Linked DNA regions of Homo sapiens: region 2 is linked to region 1. The links are contacts of gene promoters, found by promoter capture Hi-C in blood cells and fetal thymus (Javierre and others, 2016). All regions are on one chromosome and are shown on one strand. Each heading gives the region's core, a stretch centred on a gene start or on the middle of the fragment in contact. The rest is flanking DNA. Distances are from core to core; before and after follow the strand shown.

Region 1 (6,610 bases), core at 1,564-4,063:
GCTTTCAGAGACTGTCACTTATCTGAGAACAGATGCTGTCACAGACATGCACAGCCTCATATTCTTTTCCTCTTTGTCTTATCATTCCTCTCTGGTAACTTTACTGTTTTGTTCCTCTTTTTGCCTTTTGTGTCCCACCCCCATTTAAAAAAATGTGATGATCAGCCACGGCAGATTGTACATTGTTAATGGAACATCATGACTGTCCATAATGATGATAGCAACAGCTTCAAGGCTCTTCGTAAGTAGATATTGCGACTTCATTGGTTGAGAAGAAACAAAGATACAATTCTTGCCAGACACTTGCTGAGGACAGGACTTAAAACCACAGTGCTTGGCCAGTAGATGGCGCGCCCCGCCCTCAGTGTGCATGACTTATGAATGAATATGCCCTCCCTATGCCCTGCACCAGCCCCTCCCGCCTCTGCTAGCCCCTCCAGCTCACTGCTATCAGAACCACTGTCTGAAGCGCAGATTGCCAAGGCCTGGCTTTAAAATGGTGTCATGGGGATTGAATTGGGGAGAGGGATTCTCTGTGAAGGCAACGGGTTGAACAGCAGAAGGGTTGAGCTAGAAAGGTGGCCGGGGAGGAGGGGCTTTTGCAGCCAACTGACTCGTCTCATTTGGCTGGAGTTGGGCTGGGAAGGGTAATGGACTAATGTGGGAAAGGTAGATCCAGAGCCTTGAACCTCCTACCAAAGCATTTTGACTTGCTCAGTAGGCCATAGAGAAGCCCTAAAAGGTTTTTATATATTTTTAAATTTTAGAGACAGGGTTTCAGCATGTTTCCCAGGCTGGTCTTGAACTCCTGGGCTCATGCGATCGGCCCACCTCCCCTCCCAAAGTGCTGGGATTACAGGGGTGAGCCACCGAGCCCAGCCAGGAATCACTAAAAGGTTTGAAGGTGGCAGGATGAGAGCTGTACTTGCACAAGATTAATATGACCAGGTTTGCGGATGCAATGAATGAAAAGAAAATGAGAATCCAATGGAGAAGTCACCTTACAACAGGAGGGGTGGGCTGGGCGCGGTGGCTCACACCTGTAATCCCAGCACTTTGGGAGGCCGAGGCCATCACCTGAGCTCAGGAGTTTGAGACCAGCCTGACCAACATGGTGAAACTCCATCTCTACTAAAAATACAAAATTAGCCAGGCGTGGTGGCCGGTGCCTGTAATCCCAGCTACTCCAGAGGCTGAGGCAGAAGACTTGCTTGAACCCGGGAGGTGGAGGTTGCAGTGAGCCGAGATCATGCCATTGCACTCCAGCCTGGGCAACAAGAGCGAAACTCCATCACAAACCAATAACAGCAACAAGACGGATGATGGAGGAAGCATATATGTGACAATTTACAGTTCGGGAAATTCAGAGAAGTAGCTCCTCAACAGTGTCACCCGTCAGTAGAATACTTCCTTCCAGAATCAGTGTCAGGAAATGTCCAGGAAGCCAGGAACTGAGCCTACACATCCCGATGTCCCAAGTGCATGCGCATGTGTGGCTAGCCAATCCCTTGCCTTCCTGCCTCTGGGAAGATTATTAGGTCTTCCATTTGTTTTCAAGTAAGAAGCAAAAAAAAAAAAAAAAAAAGGAAAAACAGCTTGAGTTTCTTTCCATATCACAGCCTTCCAATGTGTTATTATTCAACACTGCAGTGTCAGATTTAGATTTTCCACCTCGAGGAATTTGGTTTAGCTTTAATTAGTTGCTGTGAATATTTCTGAGCCAACTCTGGAAAGCATTTATCTGGAAAATAGTTTCCACTAAAATATAAGCTGGATATAGGGTATCATTTTCCTAGGAGGGTTTGTATCAGTTAACAGTTATAAATTCTCTCCAGCCCTCTGGATGACTTTTGCCACAAGCCCATCATCGTCATATTGGTTAATTACTTATTAATTAAACACAATTCAAAATACTGTATTGAGGCATCTGCATCGCCATCTAAGCTCTAGCTTCAGGACTTCAGAGCGTGAAGATTTTTCGGAGAAAAGATAACGCTTACAGGTTATTCTCATACAGGCAACTGATGCATTTTTCATCCGGCAACTTTTCATAAAAACAAGCTGAAAAATACCAGACAAATGAAAAACAGACTTCAGCAGTTCCATGCTGCTTCCTGAGTAACTGAAGAATGTGCTTCTTGTGGTTAAAATGAGAGATCTGTTTAATATGGATCAAATAGCAACACTCCAGGCATTTTCATTGACATTTCACTGTGACTTTTTGAACTTAGGAGTGCGGATACGAAAACCTACTCTTTCTTTCTGCTGCGCGGAGCCTGCACAATCTGCAGAAAGATTGCAGAGCCGGGCCAGGCGAGGTAACAGGCTACGTGGGGTTCATGTTCTCTCTGGTTGTTCCCTCCCCGTTTGTACTTCATTTCCATTCACACGGCTGCACTTCCCAGTTTTCCAGGATCTCTCCTCTGAAACCAGGCAAGGGTTTGTTCCCAAATCCCACCCATTGCCTCTCCAGCCCCAGACTTGCTTACTGGACCACACATAGGTGGTGGGCATTGGTGACTTGTCCCTAGGGTCAGGGGACCAGAAACTTCCCAGAGGGGCTGGATGGAGCACGGCAGCACTCAGGGCACAATGGAGAGCGGATTCAAAGGGCAAAGGAGCCGAGGAAAGCCCCTCTGCCCGAGCCTCCCCAGCGCCGGCCGGGCTCCGCTCCGGAGCAGCCCCGCCGTCTGGCAGAGACATGCTGTTTTGTTTAAATCCTCCACATTCTTTGCCATTTCCCCATTGGCCGGATGGGGCTACCCTCCCCGCCGCGGCCGCTGCTGATGTCAGCCTCGCTCGCGCTCGCTCCTCCCGCACCCACCTCCCGGCCCCAGGCACACTGCATCGGCGCGGACGCTCCGGCCCCGGCGAGGTGGCTGCAAACTCGCGGGCACGCACGGCGCCCGGGGAGCCGAGGGACTCGGGGGAGGGGACGCGCGCGGAAGGCGCCAGCTTCCTCCCGCCCGCCCCTGGCAGCCGCGAGCCGAGGTTGGAGGCGCCCGGGGCCCCAGCCGGGCAGAGCCGAGCGGCGGCGGCGGCGGCGGCTTCCCTTTTCTCCCCGAGCCGAGCCCCGGAGCGGCGCGGGGACCGGCCCTAAAAAGAGCAGGAAATCTTGTTTACCGCCCGCGGAGAGAAGCCGATCGAGCCTTTGTCTGGAAAGTCAGCATCTCCGGCTCCGGCTGCAATGTGTTCCTGGTGACATTAGCATCGGGCAGACCCGCCGGAGGAGGGGGGTCGCCAGGTTCCCGTCTGCTTTCGGAGGCGGATCGAGCGGGTGACTTTTGTGCATTCGTTTTAATTTTTGGAAATCTCTCTTTTTTCCTCCCTCGCTCGCTGCCGGGCATGTCCTGATCTGGCGGCCGCTCCTACCACCCTGGGCAGCCGAGCAGAGTCGTCCCCAGCGGGTCTCCCTCCCTGCCTCCCTGACTTTGCAACACCGCGTTCCGGGAGGACCGGCCTCGGCGAGGGAGGAGGCGGGGGAGCTGCGAACACCCAGACCCAAACCCTGACATGCTCTGGGGCGGAGAGGAGGAAGCCAGGAGCTGAGCGCGCCGCGGGGGCTGCTTCGCCCTCCGGCTCCGAGCGCCGGGCTCCGGGCGCCCTGCCCTGCGCCTGGGCAGCAGCCTTGCTGGTCTTGGGGGCGCCCCCCGCTTCCCGCCCCGGGGGTCCGCGGCCGGCAGGACCATGCTGCTGAAAGAGTACCGGATCTGCATGCCGCTCACCGTAGACGAGGTAAGCGCCGCGCCCGGCCCGGCCTCGCCCGCTCCGGGACCCCCGCCGCTACCGCCGCCTCCTGGCCGGCGAGCCCCGGGCGAGCGGCAGGAAACCCAGGTGGACGTTACCCCGCAAACCCGAAGCCTGGAGGAGAGGAGGGAGGGGATTTGCGGCTTCCACTTGTCACCCCAGCGGGGGAGGGCGGCGCTGGGTGGGGCGGCGGACTCCGGGTGGGCTTTTCGGGGGCGCCCAGAATCCAGACTGTTGGGGATCACTATGAGCCAAAGGGAGTGGGTGCGCCCCCTCCCTCCAAATAAGAAAATGAATAAACCAAACCCAAGAGCCCCCGGCGCGCGCTGTAGCTGGGGTTTGGGGGGCATCCCGTCCTGGCCGTGGGCCCAGCCTCCCCTCCCCGCCCTCTGCGGTCAGGTAGGGGTGCGAGGAGGAGCCCTGCGCCCTCGGGATCTGCACGCCCCGAGCCCCGCGGGAGGAACCTCTGAGCCCTTAGGGGAGGTCCCTGCGGGGCCCGACTTCTCGCCGTCGCCGCGGGCTTGGGCGCAGCTCCCGGCACGTCCGCCCTTCGAGGCTCGGGACCCGGCTGTGTCCTTTCGCAAACCGCCTGGCTCGGAAACTTTCTGCGTCTCTTGTTTCTTCCGCCGCGGGGAGCGGCGCGCGAGCCGGGAGCGGCGGGGGCTGCGACGCGGCCACAGGAGGGCGCTCCAGCACGTGGTGCCGGGGCCGCGGCTGCCGGCTGGGGGCGCCGGGCGCGGGGCGGGGGCTCGTCCTCCAAGCGCGGCTCTGCTGTCCTTCTCCCGATCCTGCGAAGCCGCGAGCTCCAGTATTCAGGAAGTGGTGACTCAGATAGGATTATTCCGGCCCCGGCTTCCCTTTCTTCCCCTTCTTCCTCCCCACCTTTGTGGTGATTCCACGACTGCTGAGCGTCTCTGTCCAGGGACAGCGAGGGAGCCCAAAGCCAAGCAAGGCAACGTGAAACTCACTAGTGTGGTTTGGTGTGGCAACACACATGAAATCAGCCACCCAGACCGTCTTTATATTTAAATCTGGTGCCTCGAAACTATCAGATATGTTTTTGAGCCACTACTTGGTGAGAGGGGCGATGTGCTTTGGGAGAGAAAAAGATGCATAACTGAGAACATGGCTGAGCTCACAGGGGCTGTCCGTATTTGCCATCTGGACCAAGGGTTAAGGTAAGACCCAAGTACAATCCAAGACAAGATCAAAGTAGCTGCAAGTTTACAAAACGCATCACGGGGACACAGGCTGCCAAGGAGGGAGAGATCAGCTTCCACCAGAATGAACAACCGAGTTTTGGAGTTCGTTGGCATTTGAGGAGGTAGCATTTAAGCAGGGTCTGGAAGGGTGGATGCCAGGTGGGTAGACAGAGATTCGAGTTGCATATGACCTTGTAAGTGGAGAAGCAGGACATAGCTTTGTGGAGAAAGAGAAGGGCAAATGAATGGGACTGGTTAATAGGAGTCTTTCCAGAAAAGGTGGAGATTGTCCCACCTTGTGGGCAGTTGAGCTAGAGTAATTCAGCTGGGAGGCATGGATCCCTCTACTCCATATCCTAATGACCTTGTTTTTTGATATGAGTTTGGATTCTAGGAGCAATGTTGGGACTGCATGAAATACACAGAAAATTGCAGGTGATAATCAAGAAAAGAACCAGTTCTAGAATCTTCTCTACTAACTACAAAATCTCTTTATCCTAGTTGGTTCCCTTTTCAGGCTTTCTGAAACACTCAGGCAGATGCTTTTCCCACTTTTGTTTTTGTACCGAAATACCCACAGGTATACCGTGGGGTAATTACATTTGAATGATATAGGTGGAGGCCCTTCCTTCCTTCCTTCCTTTTTTTTGTCTTTTCTTTTCTTTTTTTTTTTTTTGAGATGGAGCCTTGTTATGTTGCCCAGGGTGGGGCGCAATGGCGAGATCTCGGCTCACTGCAACCTCCGCCACCTGGATTCAAGCAATTCTCCTGCCTCAGCCTCCTGAGTAGCTGAGATTACAGGTGCCTGCCACCACGTCTGGCTAATTTTTGTATTTTTAGTAGAGACGGGGTTTCACCATGTTGGCCAGGCTGGTCTTGAATGCCTGACCTCAGGCAATCCGCCTGCCTCAGCCTCCCAAAGTGCTGGGATTACAGGCATGAGCCACTGCGCCCAGCCAGCCCTTCCTTTCTTAATTGGCCAACAAAATCAGACTCATCAGACTCCACCTGTAATATAATTATAAATTCTTTAATGTATAATTCATTTTGGCCAAAGTATGATTCAGTTTCTGTAAGGTTCATATTCTGAAGTCATTTTCGGCTTTGTCAGAGAAGCAGGAGGGCAATTTAGATTAATAGATGTTTCCAATTAGTAGGATTCAGATTAGCTAAATCTGATGATGGATGAAGAAATGAGGCCTAGTTTGCCAGATGTTAAACCCCTAGAGTCAGAACTGATAGTAAATTCCACAGTCTCCACCATCCCCTTTTCCACTGACCCTTTTTCCACATTGAAAATGAGGAAGCAACTTGAGTTTCTTTAAATAAGATGTTTAGGTAAACTTTGGAAGCCTAACTTTTTTTTTTTCTTTTTGAGACACGGTCTCGCTCTGTCATCCAGGCTGGAGTGCAGTGGCGTGATCCTAGTTCACTGCAGCCTCCATCTCCTGGGCTCAAGTGATCCTCCCATCTCAGCCTCCTGAGTAGCTGGGACAATAGGTGTGTGCTGCCAACCCGGCTAATTTTTTTACTTTTTGTAGAGACAGGGACTCGCTGTGTTGCCCAGGCTGGTCTTGAACTCCTGAGCTTGAGTGATCCTCCTGCCTCAGCCTTTTAAAGTGCTGGGATTGCCGGGTGCGGTGGCTCACGCCTGTAATCCC
Region 2 (6,610 bases), core at 1,168-3,667, 110 kb after region 1:
AATAGACCTCTTCTTCCTCCTATGGCAAGTCTGTATGTAGTCTTGCTAAGCTTGTGTCTGCCCACAAATCCTAATGAGAAGATGGCATTGATCGGAGATGGTAGCAAAGTACAGCTGGGATACTGCTGTCCATATGTTCCATGGTTCCAGAATTCCAAGGACTACAGACAGCCTTGTAGAAATCACAAAGCATGAGTGATAGTTATAAGCAAAGAGGTCTTCTCCTTTTTATCCAAGGACAAGCAAATGGCAGGGAGGCAGAAAGGTGACGTTTTGAATCTGTAGACACATAACGAGGAATGTGGTTGACTGAAAAGTGTCTATGCATTTAGGGCGGTGAGAGCAGACAGTTAGGGGCATCCAGGAAACCTCCTCCTCTCTTGCCTTTCAGGGTGTCTCCTGGAGTCCCGAGTGTGGCATGTTCTGCATTCAAGAGTATTGTGGAGGCCAGACGTGGTGAAACCCCATCTCTACTAAAAATACAAAAATTAGCTGAGCGTGGTGGTGCATGTCTGTAATCCCAGCTACTTGGGAGGCTGAGGCAGGAGAATCACTTGAACCTGGGAGGCGGAGGTTGCAGTGAGCTGAGACTGCACCACCGCACTCCAGCCTGGGCAACAGAGCAAGACTCTGTCTAAAAAAAAAAGAGTACTGTGGAATTCATTCTTATGTAGCTGTATGAAAAAGAAAACCAACATCATAAAATATGAGTACTAGTTTGAAGTCCATTACAGACAAATCACACCATTTTTATGTTAGACCACCCCAACCACTTCCCTTTTTTGTTTTTGTTTATTTTGACAGGTTCTCGCTTTGTCACCCAGGCGGAAGTGTAGTGGCACGATCTCAGCTCACTGCAACCTCTGCCTCCCAGGTTCAAGCAATTCTCTTGCCACAGCCTCCTGATTAGCTGGGATTATAGGCACTCACCACCACACCAGGGTAATTTTTGTATTTTTAGTAGAGGTGGGGCTTCACCATGTTGACCAGGCTGATCTCGAACTCCTGGCCTCAAACGATCCACCCACCTCGGCCTCCCAAAGTGCTGGGATTACAGGCATGAGCCACCACACCCAGCCTCCTTTTTGTTATTGCTCAGATTTACAGAAATTTATTTTGCAAAATTTTACCTCGAAGAAACAAGCGAGTGTTTCTCTGTATCCATCTGAGCTCAGGAGGATGCCCAAGTGAAAGGTGTTTAATCCAACTTCTGTTGAATGATTGACTTCTCAGGGACTGTTAATTTGTAAACTCTAAGAAAGGGGGAAAGTTTAAGTTTTTCCGGCTGCCAAACTTTGGGCTTCATGGTGAATCATCAGGACAGGCTTTCTAGGCCAAGTGTAAGCGCTGTTCTGGGGGCCACTGGTCTGAGGGTGGGGGAGCAGGATGTGTTTATTTAGATGCACGGCCAGAGTTCACACACTTGGGGTTTGGGATCAGCCTCCAGGGCCTAAGTAATTTCTCCCAGGAGATGTCTTCGCATCTTATACCCTGTATAGGATCATCACGGACTGCTGATTGAAGAAAAGGGTTAGGACCACTGATCAGAGAGAAGCTACGATTTTTTCTTTTCTGTCTGTCACAGAGGTGTCAGTAAAGGAGAAAGCTTACTTGAAAGGTTTGGATTACCGAGCAGCTCAAAAGAGCTGTTGCTGGCGGGATTTTCTCCTTGCTGAAGTTTTTCTTTGCCCCTAGAATACTAAGCAAAAAGGAAAGAAAAGATGAAAGGTAAGTCCCTCTTTAAAAATACATTGAGTCAACCCATCGCAGAAAAATACAGATTTCTCAACTGACAAATAAGCGGCATCACTGCATTTGGGAATCAGAAAAAGTCCCCACGATAAAGTTATTTGGGAATTAATCAACACTTGGCTCATCCTAGGCGTGGAGCGCTTCGGAATTCACCTCGTGTTGCTTGGAAGCTGGCAGCCCGGTTGTTATATAATGTGAACCCAGAGGCCTGCCAGACGGCCCTCCCTGTGCCCCGGGGGAGTTACAAGGCTCTGTAACTCTTGGAGTCAGTCAATCCTGCAGAACAGAGTCCAGGGGCCTGGTGTGTGCTGTGTTTTACAGATGACACATTAACCTTTGAAATTCTGTCCTCAGTCACCTTCATCAATGCCTGAGCGAACGAAGGAAGGGCCACATGTGGGCTCTTTTTTTGTTCACTTTTCCAAATGGAGATAAGACATGTAACAAAATTTACCATCTTAACCATTTTTAAATGTACAGTTCTGTGTTATTAAGTGCATTCCTATCGTTGTACCAGTATCACCACTATCCATCTGCAGAACTCTGCATCTTGAAACTCTGTGCCTGTTCAGTGGTAACTGCCTGTTCCCCTCCTGGCAGCCCCTGGCAGCCGCCCGTCTCTGAATTTCAGAGCCACTTTCTGTCCCTGAGTTTGACTACTCTAGGTACTCACATAAGTAGAATCACACTGTATTTGTCCTTGTGTATCTATCTGGCTTATTTCTCTTAGCGTAATATCCTCAAGGTGCATCTGTGTGGTAGTGTGTATCAGAATTTCCTTCCTTTTCAGGAGTGAATAATATTCCATTGTACGGATATACCATGTTTTGTTCATCCATCCATCCCTCCGTGGATGGACATGGGTTGTTTCCACCTTTTGACTATTGTGAATAGTACTGCCATGAACACAGTTATACAAATACCTGTTTGAGCCTCTGCTTTCTGTTCTTTGGGGTACTTTCCCAGAATTGGAATTGATGGGTCATACGGTAACAGACTCCTTTTTTAAAAAAGAAAAGTATCTTGAGAACTTGGGAGAGCCACCCTAGGAGTACTTACTGGGCTGGATTGTTTGCTCCGTCTCCTTTTGCCTCCAGGTACAGCCCATAGGCCTCTGTCCTCACAGATGTGGTATGGAAGAGTGGCCCTGTTCCAGGGTGAGATCACCAGTGTAGACCTTCTCAGTTTGACCCTACATCTGATGAACCCCCAAAAGCACAGAGAGGATCTCAGAATGAACTAAAGATCATGGGCTATAAATGACTCCTTCCTTCTCCTTTTCTTCCTTGGATGACAAAGATTGTGGTCACTATACAGTTATGGTGGCCTCAAGTCTGGTAAATCAATGATGTTTCATGTTAGCTGCTCACGGGATTCACCTTGTGGCTTATTGATGTCCAGACCCCGCCTCTGATCCCGCCTCTAGAGATTCTGATTTCATTGGTTTGAGTCCTGGCCTCAGCATGGGGACTTTTGAAAGCTTCCAGGCGAGTCTAATATGCAGCCAGGGTTCTGTAGCACCCAAGTGAATTACTGAACCCGAACCTTTTCTCAATCCCTTTCATGCTGTCTGTTGTCTTTTTGGTTATTTCTTTTTTCTTTTTCTTTTTTAATTTGAGATGGAGTCTCGCTCTGTCCCAGGCTAGAGTGCAGTGATAGGATCTTGGCTCACTGAAACCTCTTCCTGCCAGGTTCTAGCAATCCTCCCACCTTAGCCTCCCGAGTAGCTGGTATTACAGGTGTGCACCACCACGCCCGGCTAATTTTTGTATTTTTAGTAGAGACGGGGTTTCACCATGTTGGCCAGGCTGGTCTCGAACCTCAAGTGATCCATCCCCCTCGGTCTCCCAAAATGCTGGGATTGCAGGCGTGAGCCACCACACCCAGCCAGGTTATTTCTTTGGAGCATATCTTCAGATTTGTACATCTCAGCCCAAGGTTTAAAGATTTGGAAACAGGCTTTTCTGTGTGTGTGTGTGTGTGTGTGTGTGTGTGTGTGTGTGTGTGTGTGTGTTTTAATTAACGAGGATGCATTATGTAACTTTGGAGCTAAGAATGAGGAATGAGGATGCATTATGTAACTTTGGAGCTAAGAATGAGGAGACCTGGGTCATACTTGTGTGTGTGTGTGTGTTATTATCTAACCAGGGATAATGAATTATTTAACTTGGCAGGATCTCAGTTTGTTGTTGTTGGTTTTTTGTTTTTTGTTTTGTTTTTTTTTAAATCTTGGCTTTAAAATTAGGGCATAGATTGGCAAACCAGATAAAAGAATGAAATTAATGATTTTTTTAAAAATGTCCCCTCTAGCTCTGACATACCACGACTCTGAATGAACAGGTGGAATTGATGGGGAGTGAGGAGGCTTGGAGAGAGAGCCCCCGGGTGTGAACCCATCCTGTTCTAACAATAATGAGCTTTGGGATGAAGAGCCTCCCCGCAGGCAGGGGACTGCTGGGAGTTTCTGGTGTCCCAGAAGAAGCCTTCAGGGCAGCTCTGATCAGTAAATAAAAGGATACGAAATAAAAATCTCAAAGGATCCGTAATGAATAAGAAAGCAGGAATGTCGTCCCCAGGGAGAAATGAGTTGGGGGCTTTGTCAGTCACGAGAGAACATAGCACAGGACTCTGGGTCCAATGGAGCTGAACGTCAGCGCCTCTGTCCCCACGAAAATAGTAACTTCCCTGACACCATCCACCTGATGCCAAGAGCTGTTTATATCAACATTTCTTCTCGGGATTCTTTCAAACTTTATACTTACTTCTCTCCTCCTCTGATTCTATTCAAGGAATGTGAATGGCTGAGGTTTTGTTTTGTTTTGTTTTCCTCTCTAGATTAGCACAGCTAATACAGTGGAATTGTGATGCCAGGGTCTATTAGTGTAGAGAAACAAAGAATGCAGTCCTGCCCTGGGCACCAGGGTTTACTTCCATGGTGACTTCTTCTTAAGCCCATGGGAAAGTGAGAGGGAGGTGACCTCCTCACAGTCGGCTCAGCCTCTGGAGCCCGGAGCCGGAGCCAGCCCCATAGTGTGTGGCCATCAGGATGACGCAGAGAGGCGTGTGAACGCAGCCGGCCACTGCAGCTGGTGCACTTGACTCTGGGCAGCGCGTTCCCAGGAACCCGCAGGACACTGAGGACCGTGCGTGATGTAACCCAGATCTGCCAGATGTGGGAGCCAGCATGAGTCACAATGCCGGGCCGTTCATTAAGAAATGCTTTCTGGGTCATCTGGGTGCAGGGCACTGCTGCTTCCCTGCTGTCCAGGGTTGGAGGCATCAAGTCTGCCCACCAGGAATCCCCAAGTTCATGAACATCTGTCTAAAATTATAGCCTGGTTTTCTGAGCTGATGTGGCACAGAGCACACGCACGCTGATGGTCTCTGGCTTGTAATTTGTTAAAGGATCTCACCACTTTGGTTAGTGGTGGGAAATCAGATAATAAAAACATACGCCCAGGTGGGAGGGTCACTTGAGGCCAGGAGTCTAAGACCAGCTCCAGCAACATAGTAAGACTCCGTTTCTGCAAAAAGATAAAATTACCTGGGCATGGCATGCCTGTAGTCCTAGCTACTTGGGAGGTTGAGGTGGGAAGATGGCCTGAGCCCAGGAATTCAAGGCTGCGGTGAGCTGTGATCACACTACTGCCTCCAGCCTGGGTGACAGAGTGAGACCCTGCCTCAAAACAACGACAAAACCAAAAACCAAAAACCCCAAAAGTGTAAGTTGCTGTGAGGTTTCTGCACATTTTAGTAAGATCAGAAATGAGGTGGGGTGTTGGGAGAAGCCAAAAACTGTGCTGGCATTGTGCCAGTGAAATGCCAGCAATCACGAGCGGTCTTCCTTTTTTTTTCTTTTTTTTTTAAAAAAAAAAAGATGTGCAAGATGCCTTATGGTGAATAACAAGTATATTTCTGAGAAGTTGTAAACTAACTCCTTAAAAAAAATCCTTATGGATATAAGACATACAGTCAGAAAAGTTCATGCATGCATCCCTGGGTAAAATCTGACACCCAAGTAACTGTAGCAAGTTGAAGGGTGGCCCCTTAAATATCCCCCAGAGCCTGTGAATATGATCTTATTTGGAAGGAGACCTTTGCAGACATAATTCAATCAAGGATCTTGAGATGAGATCATTCTGGATTACCTAAGTGGACCCTAAATCCAATGACAAGTGTCCTTACAAGAGACAGAAGAGGAGAAGACACAGACACACAGGAAGGAAACATATGAAGCAGGAGGCAGGGATTAGAGCACTGGAGCTGCAAGGAACAGCTGAGCCACCAGAAACCAAAAGAGGCAACAAACGGGTGGTCCCCTCGTGCCTTTGGAGGGAGCCTGGCCCTGCTGACACCTTGATTTCTTTTTTCTGGCATCCAGAACTGTGAGCCAGTAAACTCTGTTGTGTGAAGCCACCAAGTTTGTGGTGATTTGATAAGGAAACTAATAAAATCATCACACCTAGATGAAGAAGCAGAATGTTTCCAAAACCCTGGAAACTCCCCCTCAAGCCTAGTTTCTGTTTTCACACCGCCCCAGGACAGCTACTGTCCTGATTTCTAACGCCGGGGATAGGTTTTATGCCATTTGAACATAATAAATGGAATCTTACGGTGCATCGTCTTCTGTGTCAGATTTCTTCCCCTCCACGCTTTGTGAGATGTGTTTATCCTGTTGTGTGTTTGATGATTCTCACTGCTGCTTAGTTGTAGTGTTCCACGGTGTGAATATACCACGATTTATTTACTCTTCTCCTGTTGGGGGCATTTGAGTTTGGGGCTACGACAAAGAGTGCTGTTACAAATTCTGTTTCGTTCCTTTCTGATGAATATACGTGGGCGCTTTTGTGAGTTACAT

What was found. Contacts are between HindIII fragments. The CHiCAGO score rates a contact against its expected background, and 5 or more counts as called.
Region 2: a contact is called between a fragment that was not itself captured here and the fragment with the promoter of PITPNC1 in region 1, in 2 of 17 cell types (total CD8 T cells and naive CD8 T cells). The highest score is 6.4, in total CD8 T cells.

The regions. Positions count from the first base shown.
Region 1 is chr17:67,374,468-67,381,077 of GRCh38, forward strand. It overlaps PITPNC1 (phosphatidylinositol transfer protein cytoplasmic 1), which reads left to right and starts at 2,814. Exons shown (of 9, transcript NM_012417.4): 1 at 2,814-3,735. The coding sequence starts at 3,688. RefSeq lists silencers at 378-457, 2,699-2,818, 2,869-3,118, 3,469-3,888, 3,899-4,198 and 1 more and an enhancer at 2,620-3,313. The HindIII fragment of the contact is 18,019 bases long and covers 1-6,610 here.
Region 2 is chr17:67,486,396-67,493,005 of GRCh38, forward strand. All of the region lies in intron 1 of PITPNC1 (phosphatidylinositol transfer protein cytoplasmic 1), which reads left to right. Among named protein-coding and RNA genes, the nearest start is that of MIR548D2, 18 kb to the left of the region's middle. RefSeq lists enhancers at 939-1,028, 2,878-3,117. The HindIII fragment of the contact is 1,626 bases long and covers 1,605-3,230 here.